Linked DNA regions of Homo sapiens: region 2 is linked to region 1. Evidence: promoter capture Hi-C in 16 types of primary human blood cells and fetal thymus (Javierre and others, 2016). All regions are on one chromosome and are shown on one strand. The core of a region is centred on a gene start or on the middle of the fragment in contact, and the rest is flanking DNA. Distances in the headings are between cores, read along the strand shown.

Evidence for each region. Contacts are between HindIII fragments. The CHiCAGO score rates a contact against its expected background, and 5 or more counts as called.
Region 2: a fragment that was not itself captured here is called in contact with the fragment with the promoter of MAP1LC3B2 in region 1 in 1 of 17 cell types (monocytes); the score reaches 6.1 in monocytes.

What each region holds. Positions count from the first base shown.
Region 1 is chr12:116,557,570-116,562,603 of GRCh38, forward strand. It overlaps MAP1LC3B2 (microtubule associated protein 1 light chain 3 beta 2), which reads left to right and starts at 1,812. Exons shown (of 2, transcript NM_001085481.3): 1 at 1,812-1,864. RefSeq lists enhancers at 1,307-1,816, 1,656-1,995, 2,216-2,265, 2,306-2,405, 3,895-4,189 and a silencer at 3,895-4,189. The HindIII fragment of the contact is 18,876 bases long and covers 1-5,034 here.
Region 2 is chr12:116,617,268-116,622,352 of GRCh38, forward strand. No RefSeq gene overlaps it. Among named protein-coding and RNA genes, the nearest start is that of LINC03088, 42 kb to the right of the region's middle. The HindIII fragment of the contact is 1,666 bases long and covers 2,531-4,196 here.

The sequences.
Region 1 (5,034 bases), core at 562-3,061:
TCCCACCTTCTGCTCAGGCCAGTGGGAAACTTGTAAGACAGAGTCCCAGTCCATGTGAGTGGCGAGTGGGGGCATCTTGGGAGGGGCCTTCCAAAGGCAAAGCCAGGCTGGTTTGGTGGAGTCCTTTCCAGAACCCATCTGCTTGTGTAAAGCCTAGCAGAGGCCACCTTCAGCAGCCCTCCCGGATACTGGTTAAAGTGTTGTTATTGTTTGAGACAGGGTCTCACTCTGCCACCCATACTAGAGGGCAGTAGTACAATCTCGGCTCACTGCAACCTCCACCTCCCGGGTTCAAGCGATTCTCCTGCCTCAGCCTCCTGAGTAGCTGGGACTACAGGCATGTGCCACCGTGTCCCGCTAATTTTTGTATTTTTGGTAGAGATGAGGCTTCACCATGTTGGCCAGGCTGGTTTTGAACTCCTGATCTCAAGTAATCCACCCACCCTGGCCTCCCAAAGTACTGGGATTACAGGCATGAGCCACTGCACCCGGACTTAAAGTGGTTTTTAAAAAGTGCCGTGTGAGACTTCCAAATAGTACTCACGGGGAGGGAAATGAAAGGAGAGGATTGGGGAAGAAACACCTTCTATTTTTTTTTTTTTTTTTTTTTTTTAGAGACAGGGTCTTGCTCTGTCACCCAGGCTGCAGCCTGGACCTCTTGGGCTCAAGGGATCCTCCCACCTTAGCCTCCTGTGTAGCTGGGACCACAGGCGTGCACCGCCACACCCAGCTAATTTTTTTTATTTTTTTGCAGAGATGGGGTCTCTCTATGTTGCCCAGGCTGGCCTCAAACTCCTGGGCTCAAGTGATCCTCCCTTCTCGGCCTCCCAAAGTACTGGGATTACAGGGGTGAGCCACCTCACCTGTACAGCTTCTTTGGAGAATGGGCCTGGGCAGGTCAAACAGGGGCCACTCTACACCATCATGGCACAGCAAGAGCTGGGCTATGTAGGTTCAGTATTCTTTGTCATTTAATCCTTGTGACGACCTCGTGTCATCATTGCTGTTTTACAGATAAGGAACTGAGGCTCAGAGAGGTTCAGTGTCACAGCTAGCATTTCACTTACATATCACAGAGCAAAGGCTCTCTTTGTCCAGAGACAACGTGCCTTTAGGTGATAGAGCTAGGACTGGAACCCAAGTCTATCTGACTCAAAGTCCACACAGCTTGTCCCCCATCCCGCAGGGACCTCTCCACGCTAGTGAGCCCCACGAAACCCCCTCAGTGCTTCGTTCCAGTCTTTTACCTTCAAGCCCAGTCAGCGAGTTCTTTATTTCCACAAATGGTGCTATTAAACTAATGGCTTCGGGAGCTATAGGCTGGCCTCGGCACAGTTACACATCTCTCCACCCACCATGTTCTGGCTTCCAAATAAATACATTGGAAATTCCAGGAGCCGAAGCCCATTTGGAAACGTTTCCGGGCCACCATTTTGCTTTGGGATGGGCAAGAAGAGACACCCTAAACTTGAACTCCTGTCTGTGCAGCCTCCAGCCGGCCAGGCGCTAAATAAGGCCACGGCCCGTTTCCTCCTTCAAAAGTCCCTTGTAAAGGGCGATAGCAGACCCCATCAGGCAAAAAGCTGAGAAGCCAGGGTTGAAATAGAGGCCTCTTTCTGTTTGGTCAATCAGCAGCTGCAAAGGATGCGTAGGATGGAGCTAAATTTATTTGTTCCTTTCTTTCTCAGCAACAGCGACGAGGCCCGAGGTGCAGCTGTCTCGCCTCGCCTGTCTTTTGCAGGCACCGGCATGCACAGAAGATGGCTCTCCGGGAGGAAGATTCCTTTCCATTTTGTTCTCTCTCTGCCTCCGCAAGGCTCGCAGCCACCTCTCGGGAGTGCAGGGCCAGATCCTGTGCCAGCGGGTAGGAATATGTAGCTGCCTCCCAGCCCCAGGGTGGAAATCATGACCTTTGAGAAGCAGGCAAGCTGCACGGCATAGATACTCAGGCCTGGTGAAGGCAAAGTGGGGCCACACCCTAGAAAAACCACAAAAGTCCCCACAGCCTCTGCTTTCACTAGTCAGACCTGTGGGAAACTTGTAAGACACAGTCCATGTGATCGGCGGGTGGGGGCATGTTGGGAGGGGCCTTCCGAAGGCCACAGCCAGGCTGGCAGGGCAGAGTCCTTTCCAGAATTTATCTGTTTGCTTAAAGCCCAGCGGAGGGGCCACCTTCAGTCAACCCTCCAGCATACTGGTCCAAGTAGTTTTTTCAAAGTGCTTTGTGAGACTTTCAAAAGGTACCCATGGGGAGGGAAGTGAGAGGAGGAGGAGGGGACGGTGAAGAAACAGCTTCTTTATTTCTAGCCTTGCTTGAATGGCTTCTTGACGGTTACTGCTCCAGTTTTGCTGAGTCAGAAGAATCCCACAGCCGCTCACCGGAAACACAGCTGTTGGGCAAAAATAACCACAGAGCTGAGCATCATGCACCTTCCAGAAAAGATGGCAGAAAACCTCAAAACAAAAGAGAAATACAAAACAATAGGAGACACTGTCAAGAAAAAAAAAACAAAAACAAAAACCACCGCAGCTCACTAACCGATCCAAGCTGGTGGCGCTCTCCTGATCTCTCTCCACTCCCAGGCCCAGCAACGGCTCTGAAATAAAGCTAAGTTTGGCTATATATATATATATATATATATATATATATATATATATATATATATATATATGTATGTATATGTATATATATATATTTAGATAGAGTCTTCCTCTGTCGCCCAGGCTGGAATGCAGTGGCGCGCTCTCGGCTCGCTGCAACCTCTGCCTCCTGGGTTCAAGTGATTCTCCTGCCTCAGCCTTCCGACTAGCTGGGATTACAGGTGCGCCACCACGCCCAGCTAATTTTTGTATTTTTAGTAGAGACGAGGTTTCGCCATGTTGGCCAGGCTGGTCTCGAACTCCTGACCTCAAGTGATCCGCCCACCTCGGCCTCCCAAAGTCTTGGGATTACAGGTGTGAACCATCACATCTGGCCTACTTTTACACTGTAGTGGGTTTAATAGTGTCTCCCCAGTCACACCTCCACCAAAAAAAGAAAAGATATGTCCACAGTCTAATGTGCTGCAGCACCTGTGAATGTGACCTTAATGGAGAAAGGATCTTTGCAGGTGTAAATTAATTTTAGGATCTCAAGATTGAATCATCCTAGACTACCTGGGTGGACCTCAAATCCAATGACAGGTATCCTTATAAAAGGAAGGCAGATCCAGCTTGGGCAACATAGGGAGACCCTGTTTCTACAAATAGTTTAAAAAAAAAAAAAGGCTGGGCATAGTGGCTTACACCTCTAATCCCAGCACCTTGGGAGTCCAAGGTGGGCAGGTCACTTGAGGCCAGGAGTTCAAGACCAGCTTGCCCAATATGGCTTAACCCCATCTCTACTAAAACTACAAAAATTAGCTGGGCATGGTAGTGTATGCCTGTAGTCCCCGCTACTTGGGAGGCTGAGACACAAGAATCACTTGAATCCGGGAAGCAGAGGTTGCAGTGAGCTGAGATTGTGCCACTGTACTCCAGCTTGGGCAACAGAGCACGACTCCATCTCAGAAAAAAAGCTGTGGGGGACAGTGGTGTGTGCCTGTGGTCCCAGCTACTTGTGAGGCTGAGACAGGAGGATCTCTTGAGCCCAGAAGTTCGAGGCTGCAGTGAGCTATGATGGCACCACTGTACTCCAGCCTGGGTGACCAAGTGAGACCCTGTCTCAAAATAAAAAAAAAAAAGTGTGGCAGAGGTAGATGGGTAGATTAGACACACAGAGAGGAAGTCCCAGAGGAACTTGGAAGTGAGGATTGGAGTTTTGCAGCTACAAACCAAGGATATTAGGGCACTCATAAGAAACTAACAGAGCCACCCCAGGCTTCTGTTTACCAGGTCCTCCCCTGGCCATCTCCTTCCCCTTGTCTGGGCTGAAAACATTCACAGCATCTTGTTTGCGTGGACACCGAGTTTCCCTTTCCCCAGACTTCATAACGATCAGGAAGCAGGATGGGGCCTTGAGGACTCCCGAGACTAAGGGAGGAGTCGAGGGTCCCTGGTTGTAGATAAGTCTTGGCCACAGGCCAGGAGTGTGACCTCATTAACCAGCAGCCATTAGCCATTCACTGAGGCAGCTGGATCCTGGTTCTGCCCCTTACTAGCTGTGTGGCCTGGGGTAAGGTATTTACCCTCCCTGGGCCTCTGTCTCCTCATCTGTCCAATGGAGATAATTAGAAAACTTCCCTTACACAGTTGTTGTAAGGATGGAGCAAGTACATGCAAAGCTGTTCTTGAACGAGGCTGGACTCTGTGCTTCTTATTGTCCAGTGCTTTACACAAGTGTAGTAAGGCTATTGTTTTTCCCTGTCAGCATCTATGACACTATCTTTTGCTTCAGCATCCTGGCTTGCCTTCGGGAGACCATCTCTCTTCCACCCCCTCATTCCAGGAGAGGGTATATCACCCAGACCTGACCAGTCAGACTCAGCTCAGTTCAGGGATGGGAATGTGATCCAAAGTGGGTCCATCAGAGCAAATAGTTGCCGAAACTCGTAGGGAAAAGAAATTCACTTTCTCTTGGTTCCACTATGTGGTGGGATATGAGCGTGGAGCATCTCTGCTGCTACCTAGGGAGAGGCTGCCTGAGACCGATGCCAAAACCCCAGAAAGCAGAGATAAAAGATAGTGGGAGAGTCCTGACAACAATATTTGTATCCCTGGATCCACCTGTGCCTGAAACCATCCGTAGCTCCAAACTCGCAAGTTCCGTGAAACAATAAATCTTTATGTTTAAGACAGTTTGAGTTGATCACTTGTAAACAAAGGCATCCTGACTCATGCAGTGTCTTATGTGATAATCTGAGCAGGAGGTAGACCTCTTATCCCTATTTTATGAGAAGAAACTGAGGCTTAGAGTAACTTAATCACTTGCATAAAATCACTAGTAAGTCCAGGGCTGTCGTCTGATCCATGTAGCCCTGGGAAGGTAGAACGATGATGTGCTTGGTGCATGCCTTGGGAAAGTCACATAAATCTCAAGGCTTTGAGTGGCCAATC
Region 2 (5,085 bases), core at 2,114-4,613, 61 kb after region 1:
CAAAATGTGCAGTACTTGTACCACTGATGGGAAACAAGAAGAGGGTTTTAGGCAATACGTGGAATTTCTTAGATATATGGAATTAGGGAACATTAGAAGGAGGACATCAAACTTGTGATTTTAACACTGTTAGTGATTAGAATGAGGCTAAGTTGTTAGAACATGAGTTAATTACAAAATTATAGTGAATAAATCATTGTATTGGTGTACATGGATAGGGTAAAAAAAATTTTTTTTGAGACAGGGTCTTGCTCTGTTGCCCCGGCTGGAGGACAGTGGCATGATCTCGGCTCACTGCAACCTCTGTCTCCCGGGTTCAAGCAATTCTCCTGCCTCAGCCTCCCAAGTAGCTGGAATTACAGGTGCCCACCATCACATCCAGCTAATTTTATTTTTTGAGATGAGTCTTGCTTTGTCGCCCAGGCTAGAGTGCAGTGGCATGATCTCTGCTCACTGCAACCTCCGTCTCCTGGGTTCAAGTGATTCTCCTGCCTCAACCTCCCAAGTAGCTGGGATTACAGGCGCCCCCATCACACCCAGCTATTTTTTTTTTTTTTTTTTTTTCAGATATAGTCTTGCCGTGTTGCCCAGACTGGAGTGCAGTGGTATGATCTCGGCTCACTGCACCCTCCTCCTCCTGGGTTCCAGCAGTTCTCCTGCCTCAGCCTCCTGAGTAGCTGGGATTACAGTTGTGTGCCACCACGCCTGACTAATTTTTTTTGTATTTTTAGTAGAGACGGGGTTTCACCACGTTGGCCAGGCTGGTCTTGAACTCCTGACCTCAATTAATCCACCCACCTTGGCCTCCCAAAATGCTGGGATTACAGGTGTGAGCCACTGTGCCTGGCCTTGTTAACAATTTTTAAGTGGTACGTGAAATACCTCAACATTCCCTATGACAGCATATGGAAAAAAGCGCTGGGCTAGTGGCAGATTCTGACCTTAGGTTTTCACATTTATCAGTCATGTGACTGTGACCAGGCCCCTACATCTCTCTGAGCCTCAGTTTCCCATGTATAAAATGGGCTAATAAGACCTAGGAGAGTAAAAATAAGATAATAAAAATGAAAGCCACTGGAAAATTGCAAAAGTATGGTCCAATCTAAGAGGTTCATTGTTATCCCTACTGTGTGGTTTGACAGAAATGATCCATACTTATCCGCCAGCCTATGAGACAATAGCAGGGATGACATTCAAAATCAAGGATGGTTCAATCCCAACTCTGCCAGGCATCAGCCTGTAGCCTTGAGCAGCTTCTTTAAGGTCTCTGAGCCTCCATTTCTTCATCTATAAAAAGGGGTTAGTAATAACACCCTTAGCAATTCAACTCAAAGGGCTAAAATTTTCCTCTAAGGAATGACAAATTGAAGGAAAAGCCCAACAGCCCAAAGAAAAACGGTGTGAAAAGATAGTGTACCCAAAATAAAATACAAATGGCTCTTAAATATGTAAACACATCCTCAGTCTCACTCATAAGAGAAATGCTCATTAAAATCACACTGAGGCAGGGCATGGTGGCTCGTGCCTGTAATCCCAGCACTCTGAGAGTCTGAGGCAGATGGATCGCTTGCGGTCAAGAGTTCCAGACCAGCCTGGCCAACATAGTGAAACTCCATCTCTACTAAAAATACAAAAATTAGGCAGATGTGGTGATGCATGCCTGTAATCCCAGCTACTTGGGAGGCTGAGGCAGGAGAATCACTTGAACCTAGAAGTGGAGGTTGCAGTGAGCTGAGATCATGCCACTGTACTCGAGCCTGGGTGATAGAGACAAAAAAAAAGAAAGAGAAAGAAAGAAAAGAAAAGAAAAGAAAAGAAAAAACTGAGTATGATTTTTTTAATCATTAAATTTGCAAAGAATTGGTTTGATAGAGATGTATTGGTAAAGTATGGGAAATGAAGGTGCCTAGATATTGATGGCGGGGAGGTAAATTGTTACAAACTCTATGAAGTGAAATTTACAGTTTCTCAAAAGTATAAAAGTGCATACTCTTTGAGGCAGGCTGAATCATGGTGTCCACATTCTAATCCCTGGAATGTGTGAGTGTTACCTAAGTGACAAAAAGGACCTGGCAAATGTGATTAAAGCAAGAATCTTGACATGGAAGGGTCATTCTAGGTTGGCCCAGTGGGTCTGATGTCATCACAGGGGTCCTTGTAAGAGGGAGGAGGGAGGTCAGAGAGGAAAGGTGATGTAATGACCGAGCAGAGGTACAGGGAAGTCCTTTGAAGATGAAGGCAGGGCCCACAAGCCAAGGAAGCTGAAAAAGACGAGGAAACAGATTCTTCCCTAGAGCCCGTGGGAGGAACCAGCCCTGTCCACACCTTGATTTTAGCCCAGTGAAATTTTTTTTAGACTTCTGACCTCCAGGACTGTGAGAGAATAATATGCGTTGTCTTGGGCCACTTTGTTTGTGGTCCTTGGTTAACAGCAGCCACAGGAAACAGATACCCTCTTTCTCCAAGCAATTCCACTCCTAGAACTTCATCCGACAGAGACACTGGGACAGATGCAAAATAACTACATACAAGCTTCTTCATTAAAGCAGAAATTGTAGAAGCCAAACACTGGAACCAAGCTAAATACCCAACAGGGATTGGTCAATAAAGCTGAGTACCTCCATGGAAGGGAGGGAAGGAAGAAGGGAGGGAGTAAAGGGAGGAACAAAGGAAAGGAGGAAAGGGAAGGGAAGGAAAAGAGGAAAAAACAAATATGCTTGTAATTCCAGCACTTTTGGAGGCCAAGGTGGGAGGACTGCTTGAGCCCAGGAGTTGAAGTCTGCAGTGAGCTGTGACTGTGCCACTGCCCTCCCGCCTGGGCAACAGAGAGAGACGCTGTCTCTAACTAAAAAATACGAATTAAAAAAAAGAAACAAATAGGTTTTCTAGATTTTTAGCCCAGCAGTGCAGGCTCAAAGGCCCTGGGTCCCTGGCTGCAGGTTCCCTGAAGGTGGGACAGTGAGGATGAGAGAATGTGATGCCTCTGAAGTTAGGTCATCACTGAGCTCAGTCTGGTTTTCTCCCTTTCATCCTGGGCAGGGTCCACCTAGGCGTGGCTTTCCTGTCCCTCCCAGCACTTTAGAGTGGATATCTGCAGGCTAGTTGTCCTGTTGATAAATCGGGGTGGGTTGTGACCTCATGTTGTCTATCAGGTTCAAGTCAATTCAAGACATGCTGCCTCTTTCCTGCTGCACTAAACCTAGCAAGGTGACGCCCCTCTAACACGCCTTCCCTCCGCCAACCCCACATCCAGCATTTAAATTGCAGGAAGATCACCATTGTGACAGTAGATTTCCAGCTGACACCCCCAGGGTAAGCACTAAGGAGCTCCCTAATTATCTAATCCTGAGATGCCCATGGGTGAAGCCGAGTGGAGCTCTTCTCTATCAGTAAACACGACATGCAGTTCTTTGTCTTCAGTGCAAAGCAAGGCTTTTTCCTGCCATGTGAGGAATACTCCTGCGTGATGTATTAAAATCCCTCAAAGAGAGAGAAAGAGGAAAGTAAAATAAATGTATTTCCATGACTCTAAGTACAAATCCCTGTGCGAGGCCCCGTGTGATCCTCAGAGCTGGGCTGGAGCTATTTTAAAACGAATGAAGCAAACCTACTCGATTGAAAAATCCTCTGTTACAGGATAGAGATGGGTAAGAAATCAGCGCCGGGGCTCTCGGAGTGCTTGATTATGGTTATAAACATTACTAGCTGCATCAGCAAAGCTGCTGGGAGTCCACCATAAACCTTTTGCGAGAGGAATCAGGAGGCAGGGCTGACCAGGCAAGTTCAAAACCTGAGCCCGTGTTACTCGGAGGCTTCCTAGGCTGCTAAAAATATCCAGTGATCTGCCTAAAGCAGGGGCAAGTGAGGAAAGCCTTTCTTCCCGCTGCCTCCTTGTCACCTGCAAGAAAAGGAGCCAGTTAAGGGGTGACAGGGGAGGAGGAAAATCCAACAGATACACAGAGCAGCGATTTTTGCCATGTGCATTGCTGCACAGCAGGGTGGCAGAGGTGTCTTCCTACGCTGAAGGAGCTCAGGGGAGGCCTCAGCCTGGACTTTAGACCAGAGAGAAAGTGGGTTCAAATCCCAGCTCTGCCACTGACTCATTTGCATGGTCCTCTACCCAAGACAGGGGACTTTATAAGCCTCAGTCTTCCCATCTGTAAAATGGAAATAATAATGCCAACACGTGAATTGTAAGCTTTAAAGATAACATGTGGTAAGTGCTGGGCTCAGAGCGGGTCCTTTCCCAATGGCAGCTGTTATTACTGCTGTGACAACTTAGTGGGGAGAGACAGATACATAAAAGCAATGGAGGCTGAGCATGGTGGCTTGCACCTGTAATCCCAGCACTTTGGGAGGTCGAGGTGGGTGGATCACCTGAGGTCAGGAGTTCAAGACCAGCCTGGCCAACATGGTGAAACCCTGTCTCTACTAAAAATACAAAAATTAGCTGGGCATGGTGGTGCGTGCCTGTAATCCCAGCTACTTGGGAGTCTGAAACACAAGAATCCCTTGAACCCAGGATACAGAGGTTGCAGTGAACTGAGATCACATCACTGCACTCCAGCCTGGGTCACAGAGTGAGACTCTGCCTCAAAAAAAGAAAAAAAAATGGGAAATCAAACAAGCAAGGAGGAAAACTGCACACAACCCCAGGTTGTGTATGGTTTGGACATAAGCATTGGAAAAATTCTCAGAAAGGAAAGGTTCCCGCCAAGTCCTCACCTGATCTTCAGCCCATAGAAATCTCCCCTAAGCTTCCAAAGCCAGGGAAATGCTAGATTTCCTCAAAGCCTGTCCAGATGTGCCAGTGGTTTGTTCTTCCTTTGCAGCATGGTTGCAATATTCAACCACTCAGCGTGTGTAGAACTGAATGGCATCATTCCCTCTCTGTATGCCCAGGCGACTCTCAAATGGCAGGTGTGTAATAAATGACTAGGTCAGGGCACTTGAGTAGTTAGTGAGAAATACACTGAGTAGAGAAGGCAGAGAGACTCTAATTGATGTGGCATGTGTATGTGTCAGCATTCAATCAGAGAGGCTGGGCCACCATACATATCTGTGCACTTATACATATATGTGTGT